2 separate regions of the Homo sapiens genome follow, and region 2 is linked to region 1. Evidence: promoter capture Hi-C in 16 types of primary human blood cells and fetal thymus (Javierre and others, 2016). All regions are on one chromosome and are shown on one strand. The core of a region is centred on a gene start or on the middle of the fragment in contact, and the rest is flanking DNA. Distances in the headings are between cores, read along the strand shown.

What was found. Contacts are between HindIII fragments. The CHiCAGO score rates a contact against its expected background, and 5 or more counts as called.
Region 2: a fragment that was not itself captured here is called in contact with the fragment with the promoter of SAMD12 in region 1 in 1 of 17 cell types (fetal thymus); the score reaches 5.1 in fetal thymus.

The regions. Positions count from the first base shown.
Region 1 is chr8:118,620,713-118,627,248 of GRCh38, reverse strand. It overlaps SAMD12 (sterile alpha motif domain containing 12), which reads left to right and starts at 5,286. Exons shown (of 4, transcript NM_207506.3): 1 at 5,286-5,445. The coding sequence starts at 5,433. SAMD12-AS1 (SAMD12 antisense RNA 1) reads right to left here and starts at 6,248. Exons shown (of 5, transcript NR_038210.1): 1 at 6,063-6,248; 2 at 5,594-5,714. RefSeq lists a silencer at 4,944-5,093 and enhancers at 5,194-5,393, 6,004-6,213, 6,244-6,293. The HindIII fragment of the contact is 1,953 bases long and covers 3,567-5,519 here.
Region 2 is chr8:117,528,897-117,534,683 of GRCh38, reverse strand. It overlaps MED30 (mediator complex subunit 30), which reads right to left. Exons shown (of 4, transcript NM_080651.4): 3 at 3,857-3,961. Among named protein-coding and RNA genes, the nearest start is that of MED30, 11 kb to the right of the region's middle. The HindIII fragment of the contact is 858 bases long and covers 2,581-3,438 here.

The sequences.
Region 1 (6,536 bases), core at 4,037-6,536:
CTCACTGTACCCTATATAATGATTAAAAATATAAAGTTTATTAGGTAATTATTAACAGAGGAACAGAAGGGAAGGGAAAGGACTGGTCAAATAACTACAGTAAGCGGTCAGCTTTAGCATCTCTGCCTAGTAAAGATTTCTGGTCATTTTGGAAGTAGTAGTAAAAGGGAGCCCATCACACCTTAAGTTTTTAAACATCTGGCATAGAATAGTTCAGTTGTGAAAATAAGTTGCATCTCTTCTAGTGTTCTCTTGTGCTGATGTGTACCAATGACAAGTAATTCCAGATGACCATTCCTATGCTTTTACACACAGTTTACAATTTCCCCTGGTTGGGGAAGTAGGGGCAACTCTGCTCAGAAGAGGTGCTGCAAATTTATTAGGTTGGTGCAAAAGTAATGGCAGTTTTTACCATTAAAAAAAAAAATGGCAAAAACTGCAATTATTTTTACACCAACCTAATACTTCAGGGTTGGAAATCCAGAACACAGAAAGTTTGTATGCAGTCAGCCACTAGAGCCTACAATAATCCCACACTCTTTTCTATCAACAAAACCTATCCAAAAAGGGACAAGTGTCCAGGACACTGCTCTTCCATGGCACAGCCCTGTTTTCTTGCCTGTCAGAGGAGGCTCTGCATTGATCAAGTTAAGTTCATTCAGTGGCTTAACTACAAGTCGGACTGGGCAGACTTACTCCACACTTGGCAAATATCCTGAGGCCCTTGCTACTGCTTAACTGAATTATATCCATGTTCTTTGGGAATGGCCTCTCAGGCTTCCATGGATGATCAAAAGAGCAAACACTTATTGGGCATCCATTATGTGCCAGGACAGCGCACAACACTATAGATACTCTCTCAGTCACTGCTGAGCCCCAAACTGTGAGCTAGGTAATGTATACATTACACAATTAATAGCATTACAATACATGTGGGAAAACCAAGGCACAGAAATGTCAAAGAACTTTGCTAATAACCAACATCGAGTAAATGAGAGTCAGGATTACAATCTAGTTCTGTATGTCTACGAAACTTGAGTACTGAAGCCAAATATTCAGATAACCAGTTAATATAAAGGTAGACAGATTCTGCTCAAATTTTGAAGACATAATTTAAGTCTGATTTTGAAAGTATAGTTTAGACGAACGATGGTATAGAATATCACCAACTTATCAACAAACAGATAACACACAATGCGATTTAATTATGCACAATGTGATTTAAGCAAAAACAACTAGGCTTTTGCTTAAATCATGTTCCCTGAAATATGCTTACTTCCTCCAATGGAAGCCTGATATAACTTGAATGGTTGGCACTTTATTCATGACTCAAGGATTAGAGTTAGTATTTTTTATCTTAATTACAAAAAAATTATTTTTTTCCTCTCAGTTCCTCCTGTCAAAAATTTTACTTTTTAGGGTTTGAATCCTTTTGGTTAGGTTTAGAAGATCTCCCTGAACAGAATAGAAACATAATCTATTTACTTTTTGAGATTTATGAATGTTTTCTGTAGAGGCTTGTGAATATAGCAACCGAGTTAGAACAATAAATACAGTAAAGTACTTATATGTACTATTTTAAATCTTAGAATCCAGTGAAATCTGTAGCCTCATCTCAATATTTCTTTTTTTATTTAATTCACTATAAGGTAATGGGCTTTTCCTTCCCTTTCTGTGCTCTCTGATATATTCAGAAATTTTTGAATCATTCTAAATATCACAATTTCTGATATTAAAATATTTTAAACCCTTCATTTTATTAGTAATGACAATTCCTATTTGGCCAAGTGCTTATGAATTCAGATTTGTGATCACGTAATCAGTATTGAAATCTAGATGGAGTAACATCACAGAGTTCTACACTTAGGTAGACCTCAATCCCCTTGCTACAATTCATGTTTTGGAGACATGGGGCAAATTACTTAAATTCACTGAGCTTCAATTTCCTCATCTGGAAAATAGTGATATCTGACAATATTGTAGTGATTAAAGGAGATGATGTATGTCAAGATGCTTAGACAGAGCTTGGCACTTGTAATTTCCCAACAAATGCTACTTATAACAAGGATAAAAAAATAGTAGTAATAAATTATCTATTGAGTACTTACTATGTAACCACAATTATGACCAAGAATCTGGAAGATATGAAGCATAAGACTCAGTTCCAGCACTCGAAGTGCTTATATACTATAAGGAACAAACAATAGCATCATAATGAACACAGAATTTGGCTTATGAGAGGTATGGGATGAGGTCTGGACTTTGCCCCTTGCTAAAATTGGGTATATCTGTTAGGAACTGTACTTGGCTGCTGATAAAAAAGACCAAAAATAAGTCATGATTGCAGTCTGTGAAAGATACTAAAGCAGAAGCTAAGCTGTGCCCAAATTACTGAGCCACAGAAACTGAAGTAATACATGGGTATTGTTGTAAACCACTAAATATTGGGATAATTTGTTAACAGCAATCGATTAATACATGTGGCTCATCATGTTGTTGTATACAATTGTAATTCCTTCATTTGCATTACTTTATAGGAGGGTTTGGAAAGCTTTTTTTCTGCAAAGGATCAGGTAGGAAATATTTGAGGCTTTGTAGGACAAGAGGCAAAATTGAGGATATTATGTAAGTATGTCTTTATAATTTCCAGGCTTTGCAAATTATACTTTTTTTGTTTTTTTTCCAACCATTTAAAAATGTAAAAATCACACCTAGCTGGTGAGTTATAAGAAATAAATGGTGAGCCATATTTGGCTCATTGGTCTTAGTTTGTTGACCCCTGCTATATGGAATTATTTGGTTATACCACAGTTCATCTCTCCAATCTGTGTTGATAAATATTTGAGTTGTTTTCCATTTGGGAACATTAAAATAATGCAGCCACAAACATTCTTGCACATGTCTTTTGGAGAACATCTGTATGCATATTTGTTTGGTGTAAACCTAGGAGTAGAACTTCTGGGTCACAGGATAAGCATATATTCAGCTGAATATTTCAGATGGTTTTCCAAAGTGGTTTTGTGAATTTGCACACCACCAGCAATATATAAATCTTTATTGCTTCACAATCTTGCCAACGGTTGGTATTTTGTGTCTTTATCTTTCAAACATTCTAGAGATAAATGTAATTTTTTTTTAGTACTTCCCAGGTGATTCTAATGTTCAGCCAGAATTGAAAACCTCTGCGCAACTATTGTTTATCCCTTATTAGGCAGAACCACATGAAATTGTTCTATTTGTAGGTTTTAAAAATGGTCAAACATTGGCTATTTCATATGGTAGAAACTAACATCTCCTTCACATTTTATTTATACTAAAAATAAAACTCGTCTAGAATGCACATCACTGGGAAAAATATTAAAGATGAGCTAAGATGAAGTTTTAAAATTAACCACAGATTTCAATGACTTTTATATTTTTATATCACCCAGATATTTAAAAGCTTGGAACCAGACCAATGGTTTTCACCCTCAATGAAGACTGGAATCACCTGTGGGTTTTTAAAACCTGAGTGCCTCTACCCAAACCCCCATAAGCTCTGATTCTGTGAGACTAAGATAAAAGCTTAGGAATATATATTTGTAGAAGGCTGATGCACAGCCAAGGTTGAGAACCATTGATACTACCTGTCCTATGGCTTTCTTTCACATTCATTCAATCTCAGAAAATACTTAACACTTTGGTGATTTTATATACATAAAGTAGTGAAGCACCTGGATTTCAGTTCTTTCCAGAGTTTAGAATGCTTGGCTGTGTATTAGGTCGGAAAATTCTTTTTCCCATGGAAATTATGTCTCACTGAATGGGTCTCTCTCTACTGTACCTAAAAGAGAGGCTTAGGTTTGACTTGTACACAGCTCCATGGACTCAGAATTAAAGTATCAACAAGAGCATTTAATGGTTACACGCAGGTATTTTTTAAAGTACCTATACACATATTATTATTATATATTACCCAGTAGGGGAACTAAGCATGTAATTAGTGACCAGAACAACAGGTGTGCATGTATACACTGAGAAACGAAATTGTTTTGAAAAACATTTTTTTTTTTTTGCTGATGACCAAGACACACAAAAATGTCTAAGTAGTCATCATGGGAAGAATCCGATTTTTGTACTTCCTCATTTTACAGAGATTAACATTATATATGAGTGACTGGGTGGATGTGGTACCAAATACATTTGTAAACTGAAGGCCTTTAAAAGTCAATCCAGTCTTGAGCCAGATTTATTCCCGAGGCTATTCCCTTACCCCTTCCAGCCACAACTGTATCCGTATTTTCACACGCAGGAAAAAATGTTTAGAAACTTAATTTTTACGAGCTGTCGAATTGTATTGCTATCCACGTGATTCCCATTATCATGTCTGCTTATAGCATCCCCAGCACCTACAGCTAGGACATAGGTTCAGAAGTTGAAGGAACCTGATTCTCAGGCACTGTTAATTATTAGGCCCTATCACAGGCTGTCAACAGGCTCCAAGTCTAGGCAAATTGAAAGCCTCCTATCCTGGAAGCCAGACAGGCTTTCATCTGACCTCCTCCGGTGCAATCCTGGCTCCCAGACTTTGTTCCTAACAACCCCTTGGGGACGTTGCCTATTGGGGTTTAAGCCACTCCTCCTCCCCTACACCCCCATGCCAAGTATTTAGCCACCTGAACCACCCTGTAGGATAAGACAACTGTATCAACCGTCGGAATTCCCCCACAAAACCCATACATCTCAGGGTGCGAAGGAACAAGTTTCAACCTCACCCTGGGCAGCGTTCTCTGGCCCAGGTGGAGAACCACACAGGAGGACAGTGGTCCTGCTCTCCCTACTAAATGGTGGTTCAGGAGGCCAGGGGGCGGGGCGGTACCGGCGGCAGAGGCCCACGGACGAGCTCGCAGGAGCTCATCACACAGCTGACCGTCACCTGCCCACCTCACCACACCTGCTAGGTGCCAAACCCCTTGTAATGGACAGGGAAGGGCTCAATCACGGGTCCCTACTCTTAGCAGCGAACCTATCTCAGCGCACGGCCTCCTGGGAGATGTAGTCCAGACCGCTTCCCGGGAACCCCCCCCCCCTCCCCCCCCGCCCCGCCACAACCAGGCATCCCTGGTCCCCTCACAACTTCCCCAGGAGAGATTGCTCGGCCTGGCCAGCTGAAGCTGGAGTTGCTCTCCAAGTGTCGGGGCCAGGCGGCACTCCGCGGAGGAGTCGGGGTGCTCTCCCCAGTCCGAGCGAAGGGAGGGAACTACACTTCCCAGGACGCCCTGCGCGCGCCGAGCCGGGAGCCGGCTGCCTCGCTTTGCGTGACCGCGGCAGGTTGGTCCTGGAGCAGATAAGCGCAGAATATTTAGGCGAAAGCGAGAGGAAGGGGGGAGCGCGGGGCAGGAGGAGTACCTCGGCCAAGAAAATTATGCATGCGTTAGGGAAGCTCTGAGAGAATGGCTGTGGAAGGTAAGGGACGCTTGGGGCATTTTTAAGCTCCCTCTTAACCCGCGCACCCCAAGGCACACATCCCCGATGAAGCTTGGCGATCGTGGGGAGGCGAGGAAAGGGGGTGGCGGAGAGCGGGCCCCTTCCTCCTCCACCTCTTGGCACTCACCTGCGCCGCCAAGGCCAGTAGGCGCTTTAATTCAGTTGCTTTGGAGAGACGTGAAGGGTAGGTGCGTAGGACTTTGAGGTAGGAGGTGTGGAGACGAGTGTCCCTGATGCGAAACGATATCCTGGAAATGGGGGGAAAGCCGGAGGATCCGGCATGAGGTTTTGGCCCCGAGATGCCCTTTTTCCCTGCCCCCTCCCTCCGGAGCAGGCTGGGTGGCCCCGGGGCTGGGGATGCTTGGTTGGCCCCCCTCACGTGGGAGAGGTCCCCAGCCCAGGTGCGTCATCCGGAAGCTTGGACTGGGATTGGGTCGAGGGCCCTTCGTCCTATGCACCCAGCAGCGGCGGCCGCAGATGTACCCAGAGGGTAGAGGTGTCCCTACACCTGTCTCTGCTTATACAGCCAGCGCCCCGGGCTTAGCAAAGTTTACAGACATGAAATGTAATCAGCCAGGGAAAAGAAGTGCAACAACCTCTTCGATTTGGGTGAATCCTTTTCTTTGAAGATCACTTTCTTCTTACAGTCTTGAGCTTCGGCTTTGCAGTTTTGACCGTAAAGTCCTGCCTCCCTTGAACTTCCTGGTTGAAAGCAGGGTCAGGCTGTTCGTGAGGGATCCTGAGTTTTTCATTTCAGGTTATCTTACCTTGGAACACAAACTTCCTTGTTTAGGTAGTTTCTGAAGAAGAAAAAAAAACTGTGGACCGGAAGGGTTTGTGATGTCACATTAGAGGTCAAGCTGTGCCTGAATGATGAAATGATTGTGGGACGAAATGGGAGCCTACATTCACCTGCAGAATTTTGGTTTCTGAGTGCAGTCAGGTCAGAGGGCGTACTGAAGTAGGAAGAGGAGGGCTTGCCTGCCAGCTGCTTCAGGCGCCTTGCCAAGGGGAAATCAGCCTATTCCTTGTAGGCTAGAGACGAGAAGGCCACGAGGCTGGCTTGCTGC
Region 2 (5,787 bases), core at 1,760-4,259, 1.1 Mb after region 1:
ATGAGGTCATCAAATGAGTTCTTCCCCATGATACTCAAGAAGGTACTTTACCTCTAAATTGTCTTTTAAAAAGCAATTCCCACAGAAATAGAGTTTAGCTTTAAACCTGGTTCATTTAAAACACCTAAACTGATTCTTTTCTCTTTGTAATAACCCATCAGTTTGATATCACGTTAACTAAAACATGTTTTATCCTGAAGTTAAAAGCACTTAGAACAGATCCAAGTCATTTAATCAAAGGAAGAGATCTCAATGTCAGAAGTAAAAATGGGGAAAAAAATTTAAAATACTTTCATTCCGTAAATATACACAAACTTTCAGAAACATTGTGTATCTATTGAGTGTGTGGCAGGAGAGGAATAAAAAAAGCTATAAACTGATGCAGAGAAAAGTGATCAGAAAGGACACAACAGCAGATGCAAGGTAAATTTTCAGATGAAAAGTAAAGAGGGAGTGGTCAGTGACTCAGAGAAGGCCTGGGCATGCAAGAGGGATGCCACCGAGAATACGCCTGATCCACCATGGAGAACCACAGACAGAGACCATCTCAGAGGCACCAGGTGAGCCCTGGGAATGAAAACTGGAGGAATGGTTAAAAGATTGACTATCTAGTAGTTTAAACAAAAAGTCTGCCAAACCCTATACTAGATTATGGAATGCCTTCAAATTTCTGAGGAAACATAACTTACAACATAGAATTTTATAGCCAGCCAAACTATCAACTGGACAAATATGTAAGGACTCAAAATTTAAGTGTCTGCATTCCTTCTAAAGAAGTCACTGATGTATGCACATCACCAACAAGGAAGAAAACCAAGAAAAGGGAAGACATGAGCTGAAGAAATAGTGAAACCAACAGAAGAGGTGAAGGAAAGCCCCAGAGCTGAAAAGCAGGCCTAGCCAGCATTCCATCCAGACCTATAAGACCATAGAAAACTTGGGAGGGTGGGATGAGAACCATGAAACTGTCTGATGATTCTGACTGTGGAAAATTGGAAAATAGTACTGAGATGTTGTCATAGATGCATAAAAAACTAACTAAAATTTTAGAAAATTAAAGAGGTAAGAATTAACTTCAGAAAAACAAAAAATTATTCAATCAAGGAAATATGACCCTAGTATACTATGCGGCTTAGCAATAAACAATACTTATGAAGCCATAATTATATGATACAGATTATTTACTGAACCCCAAATATGATATAAGTGCACTGAAAGGTTTGAGGGAAACAATTATGTAGGTGGGTCCAGGAGAGAGAGGCTGTAGGGAGCTAAATCCTCATGGGGAGAAAGAAGTCCTTTTATACATCATATCCTTGTTTCAATTATATCCTTTACTTAAAATCCACAAAACTCTATGTCAGTAGATAGTAAGATTTTTTTTTTTGGTTACATGCTGCCAAAGAATTACCATATTTTGATTATAAAAGAGAACTTTTAAAAGTCAAAGACATGTTATTTCTAAGTTATCAAATTGGGAAAAAAGAGAAACTTAATGAAAATTGAAGAGAAATGTAAATATAGAAAAAGTATCTTTCTGAATTTACACAGCTTTATTTTTTACAAAATATTATAAAATCCTCTATGGTACAGAACAAACTATGTTTACATTAGTTACACATGTGGTACTCTGAAACCAAAGTTATTATTATAATGGTGTTTTATTTATATACATATTTCATTATATTTTATAAAAAAATCATTAGAGAAACATAAGCAGAACACATTTATTGAGGTAATACATATTTATCAACAGAAACATATAACACGTCTTAATAAGTGAATGTCTCATACATCTAGACTACCAAACACCAGTTATTTTTCAAGATCTAAACTAAAAGTTCCCATTCTCCTCCTCACCCTCTACCAATTTTTTACTGTGAGTTTTTTATTATGATTGTCATGTATTACAATCAGATTTTTTGGAAATAGTTTTCTAAATGTGTGTTTCACCTTTTAAAAAAGTTACAAAATTTTATTTTATAAAATCTATCCATCTTTTTCCTTTCTTCCGAGTTTTAAAATACTTAAAAAATTATCCAATATTTTGTTTTGCAGGTCTTATTTTCAACTCTGAAATTCATTTTGATTTATGGTGTAATGTAAAAGCTAGCTTAATTTCGCCCCCAAAGTTTCTATTTCTAAAGACTAATTTTCCACACAAGCCCTCTTCTGTCATATTAAATTCTCATGTACAATAAGAAGGCTGTTTTTCTGGCTAGATTATTTTACTAATCTGCCTATTCTTGTGCCAGTATTATACACCTAATTACCATTTTTATAATATGCTTCATATTACAGTTTAATTTTTGAAGCTAAGAATTCTGCTTTATTAGTCGTATTTATCAACATTTTCTTTGATATTTTTGTATACTTTCAAGAAAAAAATTCCATTTGGGTTTTATTTGGATTTGTTTATTGATTGGTATTGCACTAAAATCCTATTGTTTTTGCATGCTTTCTTATTAGGATTTGGATTGTTACTGTATTAAAACTGTGAGTATTAAATCAAGACTGGTATTTTTATAATATGTATTGCTCATCCAAGAACTTTATATGTTCTTTTAATCATTCAAAGCTTCCTTTATGTATCTTAATAAGTTTATTCATACACATTATTGACATAATTCCTATCTACTTAATATTAATTGTTACAAGAGTCAATAGAATCTTATAATCTAATAGGTTTACAGCATTGTAAGAGCATGGTATCAGTCTTGTCTTAGACCCTTTTACGGAACTCTTATAGACTAGTTGTTCATCAGTTGAGTTTCTTTGACCATTCTAACAAGCTCATACATAGTAACTCCTGTTTCCCAACTGTCATTTGTCCACTGTCTTTTTGTACTGGCTATAACTTCTAAAATAATATTAAACATAGTGTTATAAAGTATCTTATTTCATGCTTGTTTTTAATAAGGATATTTCTATATTTCACCTTATGAAAAATGTTGGGTATTTATCTAAAAGAAAAAGATTTAAAAAAAAAACACACTGTCTTGCTAATAGTTTTAAGTGTCCTTTGAATCAGCAACAGTATTGAATTTTATCAGATGTCTTTTAGACATGTGAGAAAATCTTTTTTCAAGGTAGTTTACTGACATCATGTATTATACATACAAACTGAACTATAAAATCTTCATATACCTCAGAAGACTCTCTTTGGCAGTGGTGGATTATTAATACACTGATGAGTTCTATTAATTAGAATTAAGAATTTCAGGAAGGGGCAATCTATATTTGTCAGTGAAAGAGTGATGCTGAAAGTTTTATTCACTGTGCTATCTCTGGTAGGTTTTGCTAAGCTGGGGCCACATTTCCATCCCCAGAATGAACTGACACCTTTCCCTATTTCTCTCTGTTTCACGAGAACTATTTGAACATTATCTTCTGAACTTTTGAAAGTATTCAGCGATAAATACATTCCAGTTACAAGCTTTTTGTGGGGTTGGAGTAGATAATAATGCTGGGATAGTTCTCTAAATTTTTTATTCAGGTGTTGAGACATTCACATTTCATATTTGTAAATTTTTATCATTTGCTGCTCCAAATATGCTATAAGCTAGAAAGGTAGAATTCTGCCCAGAAAAGAAAAAAGTAAATGGATTGTGACTAAGTGTCTAAGGAGCTCTTCTAAGAGCTTTATCGAATGAATTTTGCAATTTCTCTTCTGACTATTCAGACAGCATTTCTGCTTACCTTTCATTTCTTGGCTGTATTCTAAATAGGTGAAGTTTGCCGCAGAAACAACTTCATGTAATTTGATAATTCAAATTATGTTTTGGAGTTACATCAGACTCCCTAGTAATTTTTATCAATAACTCTAAAACATAAAATGTAAAAACTAACAACTCACTTTATTTACTTCAGCAATTTCTCGCCTCTCTTCACTAGCAAAACGAGGTGGGCCAGCCCGATCATCATTCTTTGAGCCATCTTCTTCCACATATGGAATAAGTTGCTGGGAATGATTAACAAAAATTAAAAGGCAAAAATATAATTCAAGTTTTCTAATCACTTGTATAGAGAATATATCAGATTAAGGTCAATTTTTATACTTTTATTTGTATAAAAATAATTTCAATTCAGGTGATGGCCTGAAATAAGAGCTTTAATAGTTGACCATTTCAATGCATTCTATGCATTACCCTTTCAGGTTTCTTTTGCAAAACAGCCTTTATAACATTGGTTGTCATGTACAACTAAACAATACTTCCAGCAGGAAGATGGGAGAAGTAAAAAATAAAATAAAATAAAATAAAAATTTAAAAAAACCCTACTCAATCAGCAAATATTTAATTATGAAACACTATAAAAGTAATGCCAAACAAGATGTGATTCCTGCCCCTAAGAGATTTGTAGTCTATTGAGATAGATAAAACAGGCTTTCCTTCATCTGCAATAAAAAGAAAAGAACTTCACGGATCTGTATTATATAATTGTCATTAACTTGCAATCTAAAACTTCAGAGTCTATGCAAACTTCTAGATGTCTTAAGTTTTCGCAGTTGTGAGAACTTTTTCTTTGTAGGAGAAACAAATTTATATAGCAATGAAACTTCTAGCAGAATCGTAATTAAGTATGCATGGTTAGTGATGGAATTTACCGCATAAGTGTGGCAGACTTCAGGAATCACCTAGCCTTTACCATCGTGTATTACCAATGCAAGAATAGGCTAAAGGTAAATGACTGGTAAAACTAGGATTCACCTGATAAAACTTCTTCAAATTCTTGGGATATATATAAACTCACCCATGTCTACATTCTCCTTTTCTTTCTTTCATCTGTCTCAATGCAGAGCTGTCCTTCCTCCTGAAGACGATTAGTCTCCATTCCTGTGCCCTGATTACTCTGCCCTCCTGTCTTCATTATTTATACACCTTTCTCTCAACCTCTCCCTACAGCTTTCTTCCTTTATTATTCAAACATGTTCCTATCTCTTCTATTTGGAGGGAAGCTCCTCTTCCTCCTGCAAACCTTCGATTCCATCTCTCCTTCCATCTACTGCTTTCCTCTCTTATTTTTTTCAAAGCTTCTTGAAAGACTGATATCCACTTGCCGGCTCCAGCTTCTTATTTCCTGTTTAATCTTCACCCGACTAGGATCAGACTTCACGCTGCTATCATTTCACTGAAGCTCTACTCAAATATACCAACAATTTTCATCTAGCAAAATCTACTGGACAGTTTTCATTCCTTATTTTCCCTGACTTCTCTGTAGCATCTGACGATGTAGGCCACATTTCTGATCTTTCTCCCACATCTCTGACCCCTTCTTTTTAGGCATTTTTGCAGTTTAATTTTTCTCTGGTCATCTCTTACCAGCTTCCTTTGGTGGCAGAGATATAATTTGTCAACAGGAAAGGGTGACTTATAGAAATATATGCCTAATTAACTAAATAGGTATGACCCAAGATTAAATTTAGAGAATATATTTTTAAAATATAGTGATTCCACTGGGCTAAATATAAAATCCAAATTAATAATAATAAAAATAATATTTTATCTGTAAAGTACTTCATGAAAACCACCTTAAAAGTATATGATACTATTAAAATTCCTACTAAAAATATCCCTGACTTAATTAAAAGGAGACACTGACAGCAATAAAAATTGCCATAGGAAAACATTTCTTCCTAACAACAACAAAAATTACTATAAGCCTGTCAAAGTCTACAAGAAATTGTTAATGTAAAAATATAGTAGTATTTTATGCATATATATCACATTTTCATCTTCTCTGGTCAAAAGTAAAACCAATAAAATTCGAAACCTGGAAATATTGCTA